Regions from separate parts of the Homo sapiens genome. Here regions 1, 2 and 4 are each linked to region 3. The links are contacts of gene promoters, found by promoter capture Hi-C in human tissues and cell types (Jung and others, 2019). All regions are on one chromosome and are shown on one strand. Each heading gives the region's core, a stretch centred on a gene start or on the middle of the fragment in contact. The rest is flanking DNA. Distances are from core to core; before and after follow the strand shown.

Region 1 (2,700 bases), core at 77-2,576, 560 kb before region 3:
TCCATCAGAAGGATCACTATTTATAGCAGCTATACCCTTAGGAAATTTATTTCTTAAAGAATAAGACTTAAAAGTAAAAATTGCTCCTCAATCCATGGGCTACAGAGTGGATGTTGTGTTAGCAGGCATGAAAATAACATTAACCTCTCTGTAGGTCTCTATCAGAGCTCTTGGTGACCAGGTGCATTATTAATGAGCAGTAATACTTTGAAAGGAATCTTTTTTTTTCCTGAGCAGTAGGTCTCAACAGTGGGCTAAAAATACATCTATGGATCTATTTTAGATCTGCTGTCATCCAGTTTTGTTGTTCTATTTCTAGAGCACAGGCAGCATAGATTTAGCATGATTCTTTAGGACCCTAGGATTTTTGGAATGGGAAATGAGCATTGGCTGCAATTTAAAGTCTCCAGCTGCATTAGCCCCTAGTGAGAAATTTAGCCTGTCCTTTGAAGCTTTGAGGCCAGGCATTGACCTCTCCAGCTATGAAAACCCTACATGGCATCTCCTTCCAATAGAGGGTTATTCCACCTACACTGAAAATCTGTTATTTAGTGCAGCCACCTTCATCAGTGATCTTAGCTAGAGCTTCTGGATAACCTGCTGCAGCTTCTACCCCAGCACTTGCTGCTTTACCCTGCACTTTGATGGTATGTAGATGTTTTCTTTCATTGAACCTCATGAACCTACCTCTGCTAGCTTCCAACTTTTCTCCTGCAGCTTCCTCACCTCTCTCAGCCTTCATAGAATTGAAGTGAGTTAGGATCTTGCTCTGGATTAGGCTTTGTCTTAAGGGAATGTTGTGGCTGGTTTGACCTTCTATCCAGACCACTTAAACTTTCTTCATGTCAACAATGAGGCTGTTTTGCTTTCTTATCATTTGTGTGTTCACTGGAGTAGCACTTTTAATTTCCTTCAAGAACTTTTCCTTTGCATTCATAACTTGGCTAACTGTTTGGCATGAGAGGCCTAGCTTTCAGACTACCAGGCTTTCAACCTGCCTTCCTCACTAAGTTTAATCATCTTGAACTTTTGACTTAAAGTGAGAGATGTGCAACTCTTCCTTCCACTTGAACACATAGAGGCCACGGTAGGGTTATTATTTGTCCTAATTTCAATATTCTTGTGTCTTGGAGAATTAGAGGGGCCCAAGGAAAGGAAGAGAAGTGACGGAACAGCTAGTGGAGCAGTCAGAACACACACAACACTAAGTTCACTGTCTTATATGGGTATGGTTTGTGGTGCCCCAAAACAACTACAATAGTAACATCAAAGATCACTGTATCACATATGCATGCATGTTTATAGCAGCACAATTCACAATTGCAAAGATATGGAGCCAACCTAAGTGCTCACTGACCAATGAGGGGATAAAGAAAATGTGGTAGATATACACACCATGGAATACTACTCAATCATACAAAGGAATGAAATAATGTCTTTTGCAGCAACTTGGATGGAGGCTATTGTTCCAAGTGGAGTATCTCAGGAATGAAAAACTAAGTATCATATGTTCTCACTTATAAGTGGGAGCTAAGCTATGAAGATGCAAAGGCATAAGAATGATATAATGGACTATGGGGACTTCGCGGGGAAGTTGGGAGGAGGGTAAGAGATAAAAGACTAAATATCGGGTACAGCATACACTGCTCGGGTGATGGGTGCACCCAAATTTCAGAAATCACCACTAAAGAACTTATCCATGTAACCAAAACCACCTGTTCCCCAAAAAACCTATTGAAATAAACATTTTAAAAATTAAAATTAAAAAGAATTTTAAAAAAGATCACTGTCACAGATCACCATAACATATAATAAGAAGTTGAAAATATCACAAGAATTGCCAAAATGTGGCACAGATACATGAAATGCACCCATGCTACTGAGAAGATGGCACTGAGAGACTTGCTCCATGTGAGGTTGCCATACACTTTCAACTTGTAAAAAACACGGTATCTGTGAAGCACAGTAAAGCGAGGTACTCCTGTATAGAGTCACTGTCAGCGCCGAAACTGCAGACTTCACAGCTAGCACTTCTGCCATGCAGATCACCATGCAAATGACAGATGAGTGCCATGGTCAGTGACCAAGCAGGTCACTTCTCTCAAAGTCTGTTGGCAACTGGTTACCATGCCAATTTAAAGTCACCAGCTGCATTAGCCCCTAATGAGAAATTTAGCCTGTCCTTTGAAGCTGTGAGGCCAGGCATTGACCTCTCCAGCTATGAAAATCCTACATGGCATCTTCTTCCAATAGAGGGCTATTCCATCTACAGTGAAAATCTGTTGTTTAGTGCAGCCACCTTCATCAGTGATCTTAGCTAGAGCTTCTGGATAACCTGCTGTTTTTCATGTACAGAATGCAAAGTATGTAGCTGTGTTGGTCCCTGTCACCCAGGGGTAAATGTATGTGATGTTTATAAAAACGGGTCATCAAAAGAGGAAAACCACCAACAAAGTTAAAAGTGCAGCAAAGAAATAAAAAGTCCTGCTGGAAGTGAAATTCAAGCCTACCGTAAACGGAGTTATAAAAGAAACAGCTGGGGTGGGGGGAGGGGGAGGGATGGCATTAGGAGATATACCTAATGTAAATGACGAGTTAATGGGTGCGGCACACCAACATGGCACATGTACACATATGTAACAAAACTGCACGTTATGCACATGTACCCTAGAACTTAAAGTATAATAATAAAAAAAAAAA
Region 2 (2,700 bases), core at 198-2,697, 610 kb after region 3:
TAAAATGGTACCATTGTTTTGGAAAACAGTTTGGCAGTTTCTTATTAAGGTAGACGAACACTTCCATGTGACCAAACAATTCAACTTTTATTTCCCCAAGAGAAATAAAAACCTATGTCCATGCAAGGACTGTTACTACTTTATGTATAATATCAATAAACTGAAAATAACCCTGACTTCCATCAAGAATGAAATGGATATTTGGTATGTTTGTAGCAGTGGAGTGCCACACAGCAGTAAAAATGAATGATTATTAATACATACAGCAGTATCTATGGATCTCAAAAACAGGGAAAGAGGCCAAACAATGAAGTATGTGCCATACAATTTCATTTATTTGCAATTCTAGAAGCTAAACTAATCCATAGGGACAGAAGGCATGTCTGTGGTTGCCTGGGGTTGGGTGTGGAGGGAAAGACTCCCTACCAGTGGGTACAAGGGAACTTTCTGGGCATGATGAGAATATTCTGTATCTTCATTGTGGCTTGATGTTATGTTTGTCAAAACTCATTGAACTCTACACTTCAGATGGGTGCATTTTACCATATATGTCATCTCTCAATAAACTGAATTTTTTAAAAATTAAAGGAATTTACTTAATTGCAAAAGAGGACTGGAAAGGAAAGGCTGCCGAGCATCTTGGCCTGCTGTACCCCTCTTCCTTCAAAGGAGGGTGTGGCCACGTCCGACAGCAGAGTTGAATGAAGCCTGCATGCTTGCACAACATCAGAACTGTCAGAATGTCAAGATGGAATACTTTCAATTGAGTTTTACAAAAAGACAAGAAATTTGCTGGGTGTGGTGGCGCATGCCTGTAATCCTAGCACTTTGGGAGGCCAAGGTGGGGGAATTGCTTGTAGTCAGGAGTTTAAGACCATCCCGAGCAGCAAAGTGAGACCCTGTTTTTACTTAAAAAAAAAAAAAAAAAGAAAAGCCATTTAGAATTCTAAGGTGAAGCTGGACGTGGTAGCTCACGCCTGTAATCCCAGCAGTTTGGGAGGCTGAGGCAGGAGGATCACGAGCTCAGGCGTTCGAGACCAGCCTGACCAACATGGTGAAACCCCTTCTTTACTAAAAATAAAAAATTAGCCAGGCCTGGTGGTGGGCGCTTATAATCCGAGCTACTCAGGAGGCTGAGGCAGGAGAATCACTTGAACCCGGGAGGTGGAGGTTGCAGTGAGTTGAGATCGTGCCACTGCACTCCAGCCTGGGTGACAGAGCAGGACTCAATCTCAATCTCAAGAAAAAAAACACTCTAAGGTGAACTTATCCTGAGAGAAAATACTCCTCCTGAGCAGTCACTGCTAGATCACATCCCACTAAGGCTGATGAACTGTGCGGCTGTTGTGCTTATTTTTAGTCAATGAGTTTATCTGTTTATACACAGATGTTTTGATCAAGTCTTCATCTGTAGTAGGATCTTCAACACTGTTTTCTACTTACCAGGTATCCATCATCCCACGTGGCAAAGGACTAGGTTATGCTCAGTATTTACCAAAAGAACAATACCTCTATACCAAAGAGCAGCTCTTGGATAGGATGTGTATGACTTTAGGTGGTCGAGTCTCTGAAGAAATCTTCTTTGGAAGAATTACAACTGGTGCTCAAGATGACTTGAGAAAAGTAACTCAGAGTGCATATGCCCAAGTGAGTATATGAAAGAGTGCATTTCCTCCTCATGTATTCATATTTGCACGAGAAATTGACATTCTATGAATGGCTCTGAAACAATATAGTTGTGCTTCACTGTTTTAGGCTTTTTAGGCAAGGATTATCTCTTAAAAGAAGTAAAGCAATTAAAACTTATGAAGAGAAACTTTATTTTTTTGAGACACAGTCTCCCTCTGTTGCCCAGGCTGGAGTGCAGTGGCTCTATCTTGGCTCACTGCAACCTCTGCCTCCTGGGTTCAAGTGATTGTCCTGCCTCAGCCTCCTGAGTAGCTGGGATTACAGGCATGCGCCACCACATGTGGCTAATTTTTTTTTTTTTTTTTTTTTTGAGACTGAGCCTCGCACTCTTGCCCAGGCTGGAGTGCAGTGGTGCAATCTCGGCTCACTGCAAGCTCTGCCTCCCAGGTTCACACCATTCTTCTGCCTCAGTCTCCTGAGGAGCTGGGGTTACAGGCGCCCACCACCACGCCTGGCTGATTTTTTTGTATTTTTAGTAGAGACAGGGTTTCACCGTGTTAGCCAGGATGGTCTTATCTCCTGACCTTGTGATCCTCCAGCCTCCCAAAGTGCTGGGATTACAGGCGTGAGCCACTGCGCCCAGCTTTTTTGTTTTTTTTTTTTTTTGATCTGGAGTTTTGCTCTTGTTGCCCAGGCTGGAGTGCAATGGTGCGATCTCGGCTCACCACAACCTCTGCCTCCTGGGTTCAAGCAATTCTCCTGCCTCAGCCTCTTGAGTAGCTGGGATTACATTCATGTGCCACCACGCCTGGCTAGTTTTGTATTTTTAGTAGAGACGGGGTTTCTCCATGTTGGTCAGGCTGGTCTTGAACTCCTGACCTCAGGTGATCCGCCCGCCTCGGCCTCTCAAAGCACTGGGATTACAGGCATGAGCCGCTGTGCTTGGCTGAGAAACCTTTTTTTTTTTTTTTTTTTTTTTTTTGAGACAGAGTCTCGGTCGCCCAGGCTGGAGTGCAGTGGCGCCATCTGGGCACACTGCAAGCTCCGCCTGCCAGGTTCACGCCATTCTCC
Region 3 (2,700 bases), core at 57-2,556:
GAAAAAGGATAAACTATCCTTCAGATTTCCAGTTACTCTGGAGTTGTCGAGAACCAAATAATCCGCACTCCAGCTTTCATTCATCCTGCAACACATCTGGGAGGTTCCTAAATCTCATGTAGCATCCCCACATTAGAAATTCTGCTTGTAGGCCGGGCGCGGTGGCTCACGCCTGTAATCCCAGCACTTTGGGAGGCCGAGGCGCCGAGGCGGGTGGATCACGAGGTCAGGAGTTCGAGACCAGCCTGGCCCACATGGTGAAACTCTGTCTCTACTAAAAAATACAAAAAAAAAAAAAGATTAGCCGGGGGTGGTGGCGTGCACCTGTAATCCCTGCTACTTGGGAGGCTGGGGCAGGATAATCGCCTGAAAGCGGGAGGCGGACGTTGCAGTGAGCCGAGATCGTGCCATTGCACTCCAGCCTGGGTGACAGAGTGAGACTCGGTCTCAAAAAAAAAAAAAAAAAAAGAAAAGAAATTCTGCTTGTCGGAAGTGTCTACAGACGTTTACGGGAACTTCAAGAAACAAACCCTCCGATTCCTGGGCAGCAAGCAGGGAAATCATTGGATGTAAATGGTTTGTATTTTTCTTCCTCGGCGTAACAAAGTGAGCTTCTGCTCTGAACCCACGGAGAAAACCATGTGCCCTGGTGAGAGAACACCGGCGGGGCACAGAACTCGACGCAGCGCCAGCCAGGCAAAGTCTCCCACCAGGTCCCACTGCAGGTCGTCGGGTGAACAGCGCGGGCAAGACCCACGACGCCGAGGCTGACGGTGGGATGCCCCTGGGTTCCCGCCCGCAGCCCCGGCAGCGCGGCCTGGGAGAGGGCCCGGCGTACCCTGCGGGCGGGAGCGCGCACGTGGCACCAGCTGCGCAGGCGCACGGGAGGGCGGCCCGCGAGGCCGCCGTGACCCCACAATACGCGGGCGGGGAGGGCTTCCGCTCAGTCCAGCCAGGGCTCGCCCGCCACCCCACAGCTTCCAGCGGCGTCACTGAACCAAGACACAGCCCCGTTCCCCGCGCCGCCCACCCACTCCCCTTCCTTCCTTCCGGGGTCGGCCCCGCCCGCAAGCGCCGCGCGCACCTTAACGCTCTGATCGCTGGAGCAGGTTGCCATCCGCCGCCCGTGGAAGTCGAAAGAGACATCGTGGATGAGATCCTTGTGGTCCGCCGCGATGCTGCGAGCCACAAACATGGTTTCCGTCGGGCCCGCGCCTCCGAAGAGGACAGTGGCGGCGGCAGCGGCGGCGGCGCGTGGCCCGTAGCCTAGCCAGACCTCGCAGCCCGGGAGCGCACGGCTTGTGCTGCCCACGCCCCCGCACCGCCCCTGCCTATCAAGCCCCGCCCACACACCCTCCGGTCCTTCAAGCCCCGCCCCACCCACCGGCCCGTCAGGCCCCACACAGTCCCCTGGCCCCTCAAGCCCTGCCCACGCCCCGGCCCGTCATGACTCGCCCCACCTTCCGGTCCCTCAAGCCCCGCCCCGCCCCCAGGCCCGTCAAGCCCCGCCTACCCTCCCACCAGAGCCGTCATGCCTCGCCCCACCCTCCCGCCCCCTCAAGCCCCGCCCTGTTCCCGGCTCGTCAATCCTCGTCCCGCCCCCGGCCCGTCATGCCCTACGATCCTGGTGCGGGTTCCTCCAGGCTCTGACCGTTCGGCGGCGGAGGGTGCTCTGCAAAAGGCGAGTTACCTGTGCTGAGAAGTAGTAAGAGCTTATTGGTATACTGTGCAAATGAAGAAAGATGAAAAAGTGAAGACTGCCTCTCACGGTCCTCGGCCCTGAATCATTTAAGTCGACGTTTGGATGTGTTTCCCCCCAGACACATGCGAGGCGCGCGGAGCAGGTGGAGAAGACGAACCGTGGGTTTGGTCAGGAGCCGCGCTCCGTCGGGACGGCTGAAGAGCAGGGAGGGCCGGGGAGACGCCTGAGGGGATGACAAGCAGTCCAGGCTCGGCAGCCTAAGAGCGAAGGCTGGACGGGGAGGAAAGGATCAGAAGTAGTAGTTTAAATGTGTCAAGATTTTACAGGTAGAACAGGCCTGGGGGTGCTAGGAGCCACCACGGGGGTAGGGAAATAGTATGAATTAGAAGAGTCCGCCTGTAGAAACGTGTCATCCCGGGGGAAGGAAGCGGCCGGGGAAGTGGGCTGCTTGCTACCCGGGAGCCAGAGTCCTCCGGGGAAAAGGAAGTGAAGAGGGCCAGAGCCCCTGGGAAGAGGCCTGGCTCAGATCAAGGATTCTGCCAAAACCGGAAAGTGGAGGAGCCAACGACTCGGGGGGTTTTGCTTATCAGGAAAAGGCATTCTAGAGGGCGTAGTGGTAAAGTTAGGATGGGAGACAGTGGAAGCTTGCGTCAGGGGAGCGAAAGTACAGAAAAAAAAAAAATGAGGCTGCAGAAGGGACTTGCCCTTTGGATTTTGGCCAGGAATGACAAAAATGTGAGGTATGGTAAAATTAGCAGGCTGGAAAGTTTTTTAAATGATTAGTCCCAGCTGTCCCCTGATGGATTGCACAGAAACCTGCAAAGAGAAGTGGCGCAATGACCTGACCTTTTTCAACCATAAATAAGATTTTATTGCTACTTTAAGAGGTGGGCCCCACCTCTTATGATAACTGATAACAACTATAACTTTTTTGAAGGTCAAAGACACTCATTTCCAAAGAAAGTGCTCACTATAAAAGTCCAATCAAAATATATTGA
Region 4 (2,700 bases), core at 157-2,656, 630 kb before region 3:
GCTGGTGGGAATGTAAACTAGTACAACCACTATGGAAAACAATGTGGAGATTCTTTAAAGAACTAAAAGTAGAAAGAACTACCATTTGATCCAGTAATCCCACTACTGGGTATCTACCCAGAGGAAAATAAGTCATTATACGAAAAAGATACTTGCACACGCATGTTTATAGCAGCACAATTCACAGCTGCAAAGATATGGAACCAGCCCAAATGCCCATCAATCAATGAGTGGATAAAGAAATTGTGGTATATATACACCATGGAATACTACTCAGCCATAAAAAAGAACAAATTAATGGCATTTGCAGCAACCTGGATGGAGACTATTATTCTAAGTGAAGTAACTCAGGAATGGAAAACCAAACATCATATGTTCTCACTCACAAGTGGGAGCTAAGCTATGAGGATGCAAAGGCATAAGAATAACACAATGGACTTTGGGGACTCAGGGGAAAGGGTGGGAGGTAAGTGAGGGATAAAAGACTACATATTGGGTACAGTGAAGGCTGCTCGGGTGATGGGTGCACCAGAATCTCACAAATCACCACTAAATAACTTTCTCATGTAACTAAATACCATCTGTTCCCCAAAAACCTACAGAAATAAAAATTAAAATAAAAAACAAACAAACCCTTTTCCTTTGTATTTCTGGAAGGTTTTTTAGGTTTTTGTTTGTTCATTTGTTTTTAATCAGTGACTCAGCTAGGGATGGAAAAAAAGTTAGATGACATATCCTGTCCTCCTTCCCAAACAGCCTGTGCTGTAAGGAGGAGACGTATGGGGGCAAGAGACAAAAAGGGAGGGGTGTCCCAGATAGATATTCCCATCAGAAAGGCTAGTTTCAAGCTCTGATTTATTTTCCTTTTGGCTACAGCTTGGAACATGGTAGAACCAGGTTGAAAAGAAGCAGGAAGCTCTTTGTTTCCAACACTTCACAATAATTTGTAAGATGGTCCTGAAAATACCCTCCACAGTGGGGCACCACTCCTAAATTGAGGCATTTCGGAGGGCCAACTGAGAGAGGTAGAGTGTGAAGTGCTCACACTCAATGCCAGGGCTCCATGAGCGTCAAAGCCGGGGGCTCTCAGGCAGCGAGGAAAGTTAACCCTGAGACAGAGGTGCCAGGGAGACACATCGGCCATGGTCCTGCCGCACATCGAGGCTTCTGGAGTCCTTCTTAAATAGCAGGTGCTAGGGGTACAAAGACGAACAGGACATAGTTCCTGCTCCCAAGGAGCTGCTGCCATGGTGAGGAAGATGTCCAGGTGGATGAACTACCACATGACAGGGATCTAAATAGGGGTCTGGACGGCACACTGTGAACAGAGAGCGGTTGCTCTCCTAGGCCCAGGGACAGCATGGGAAGAGTGCTGCCATGGCCGGCTTCCTCAGGAGCTGTAGCCCAGCCACATTCTGCTTTTTCCCTAAAAGGCTTTCTAATACCCACACACAAAAGCAAACCATGGGTAATAATAGCAGACGGCAGAACATCCACTATTAAATTTGATAATAGTGAGATGGGCTTTTGCAAATCTGGTCATCCTACCACTTTCTCAACCATCAAAGAAGAGCAGTGAGCAAGTGGAACGACCAAGAGTTAGAGCCTTCCCCACAGTGGTCAATATATCCATACACCTCAGTGTCTTCACCAACAGCCAAGGCTTCTGTATCCATCGCTATGCATGAAGCCCACAAGCCTCACTCTGGTGAGAGATACCAGCCTGGAAAAAATGCAGCTGTCTTTCATGAGGTTCCTGACCAGGAAATGCGGAGATGGGAACAGGAGAAGGAGCGCGTCACCCACGGAATGTCTGGCTTCTAATCCCTCTCCAGGATCTGTGTCTGTGGTCTCGGCTTCACCACCTGAGAAGGGTCTACAGATCTGAACTTAACCTGACACCAGTCTCTTTACCCAGATTGTTCTCTGAGTTTGTTCCTTTGATTACAATTCTACCAAAAGACTGTCACTGCCCCCAAATCTGACAGCAAATGAATTCTAGTCCAATGCTTGTTGGCTTATGCAAGGTGTGTGTTTTGTCAGCCTATTCCTGTCACCTATAATGTGAGCCCAGCATGCTCCTAGATTTCTAAACAAATTTTAAGAAAAAACTGTACAGGAGAATCAAGGAGAACAAACCTTCTCTTTAAAGGAGAGCAGCCAGTGGCTCACACCTGTAATCCCAGCACTTTGGGAGGCCGAGGTGGGCAGATCACCTGAGGCCAGGAGTTCGAGACCAGCCTGGCCTACAAGGCAAAACTTCATCTCTACTAAAAATACAAAAATTAGTGGGGCGTGGTGATGGGTACCTGTAATCCCAGCACTTTGGGAGGCCGAGGTGGGCAGAACACCTGAGGCCAGGAGTTCGAGACCACCCTGGCCTACAAGGCAAAACTTCATCTCTACTAAAAATACAAAAATTAGTGGGGCGTGGTGGTGGGTACCTGTAATCCCAGCTACTTAAGAGGCTGAGGCAAAAGAATCGCTTCAACCCGGGAGGCGGAGGCTGCAGTGAGCCAAGATCATGCCACTGCACTTCAGCCTGGGCAACAGAGCGAGACTCCGTCTCAAAAAAATAAAATAAAATAAAAATAAAAATAAAATAAAATAAAGGAGAACAAACCTTTCAGAGCAGTAACTCCTTCCCAAATGAACACTGCAGCTTTCCAACATCTAATAACATCCACACAGCACAGGAGG

What was found. Contacts are between HindIII fragments. The study calls those that stand out against the background at their distance.
Region 1: a fragment that was not itself captured here is called in contact with the fragment with the promoter of SEH1L in region 3 in 1 of the 25 tissues and cell types used here (dorsolateral prefrontal cortex).
Region 2: a fragment that was not itself captured here is called in contact with the fragment with the promoter of SEH1L in region 3 in 1 of the 25 tissues and cell types used here (lymphoblastoid cells).
Region 4: a contact is called between a fragment that was not itself captured here and the fragment with the promoter of SEH1L in region 3, in 1 of the 25 tissues and cell types used here (lymphoblastoid cells).

What each region holds. Positions count from the first base shown.
Region 1 is chr18:13,506,220-13,508,919 of GRCh38, reverse strand. The region is part of intron 4 of LDLRAD4 (low density lipoprotein receptor class A domain containing 4); the gene reads right to left. Among named protein-coding and RNA genes, the nearest start is that of LDLRAD4-AS3, 37 kb to the right of the region's middle. The HindIII fragment of the contact is 7,095 bases long and covers 1-2,700 here.
Region 2 is chr18:12,339,148-12,341,847 of GRCh38, reverse strand. It overlaps AFG3L2 (AFG3 like matrix AAA peptidase subunit 2), which reads left to right. Exons shown (of 17, transcript NM_006796.3): 15 at 1,447-1,647. All of the region lies in intron 1 of LOC107985154 (a long non-coding RNA gene), which reads right to left. Among named protein-coding and RNA genes, the nearest start is that of TUBB6, 32 kb to the right of the region's middle. The HindIII fragment of the contact is 6,920 bases long and covers 1-2,700 here.
Region 3 is chr18:12,946,617-12,949,316 of GRCh38, reverse strand. SEH1L (SEH1 like nucleoporin) reads right to left here and starts at 1,306. Exons shown (of 9, transcript NM_001013437.2): 1 at 1,085-1,306. The coding sequence starts at 1,195. RefSeq lists an enhancer at 126-727 and silencers at 659-758, 769-1,118, 1,159-1,608. The HindIII fragment of the contact is 16,054 bases long and covers 1-2,700 here.
Region 4 is chr18:13,572,992-13,575,691 of GRCh38, reverse strand. The region is part of intron 4 of LDLRAD4 (low density lipoprotein receptor class A domain containing 4); the gene reads right to left. Among named protein-coding and RNA genes, the nearest start is that of MIR4526, 37 kb to the left of the region's middle. The HindIII fragment of the contact is 8,876 bases long and covers 1-2,700 here.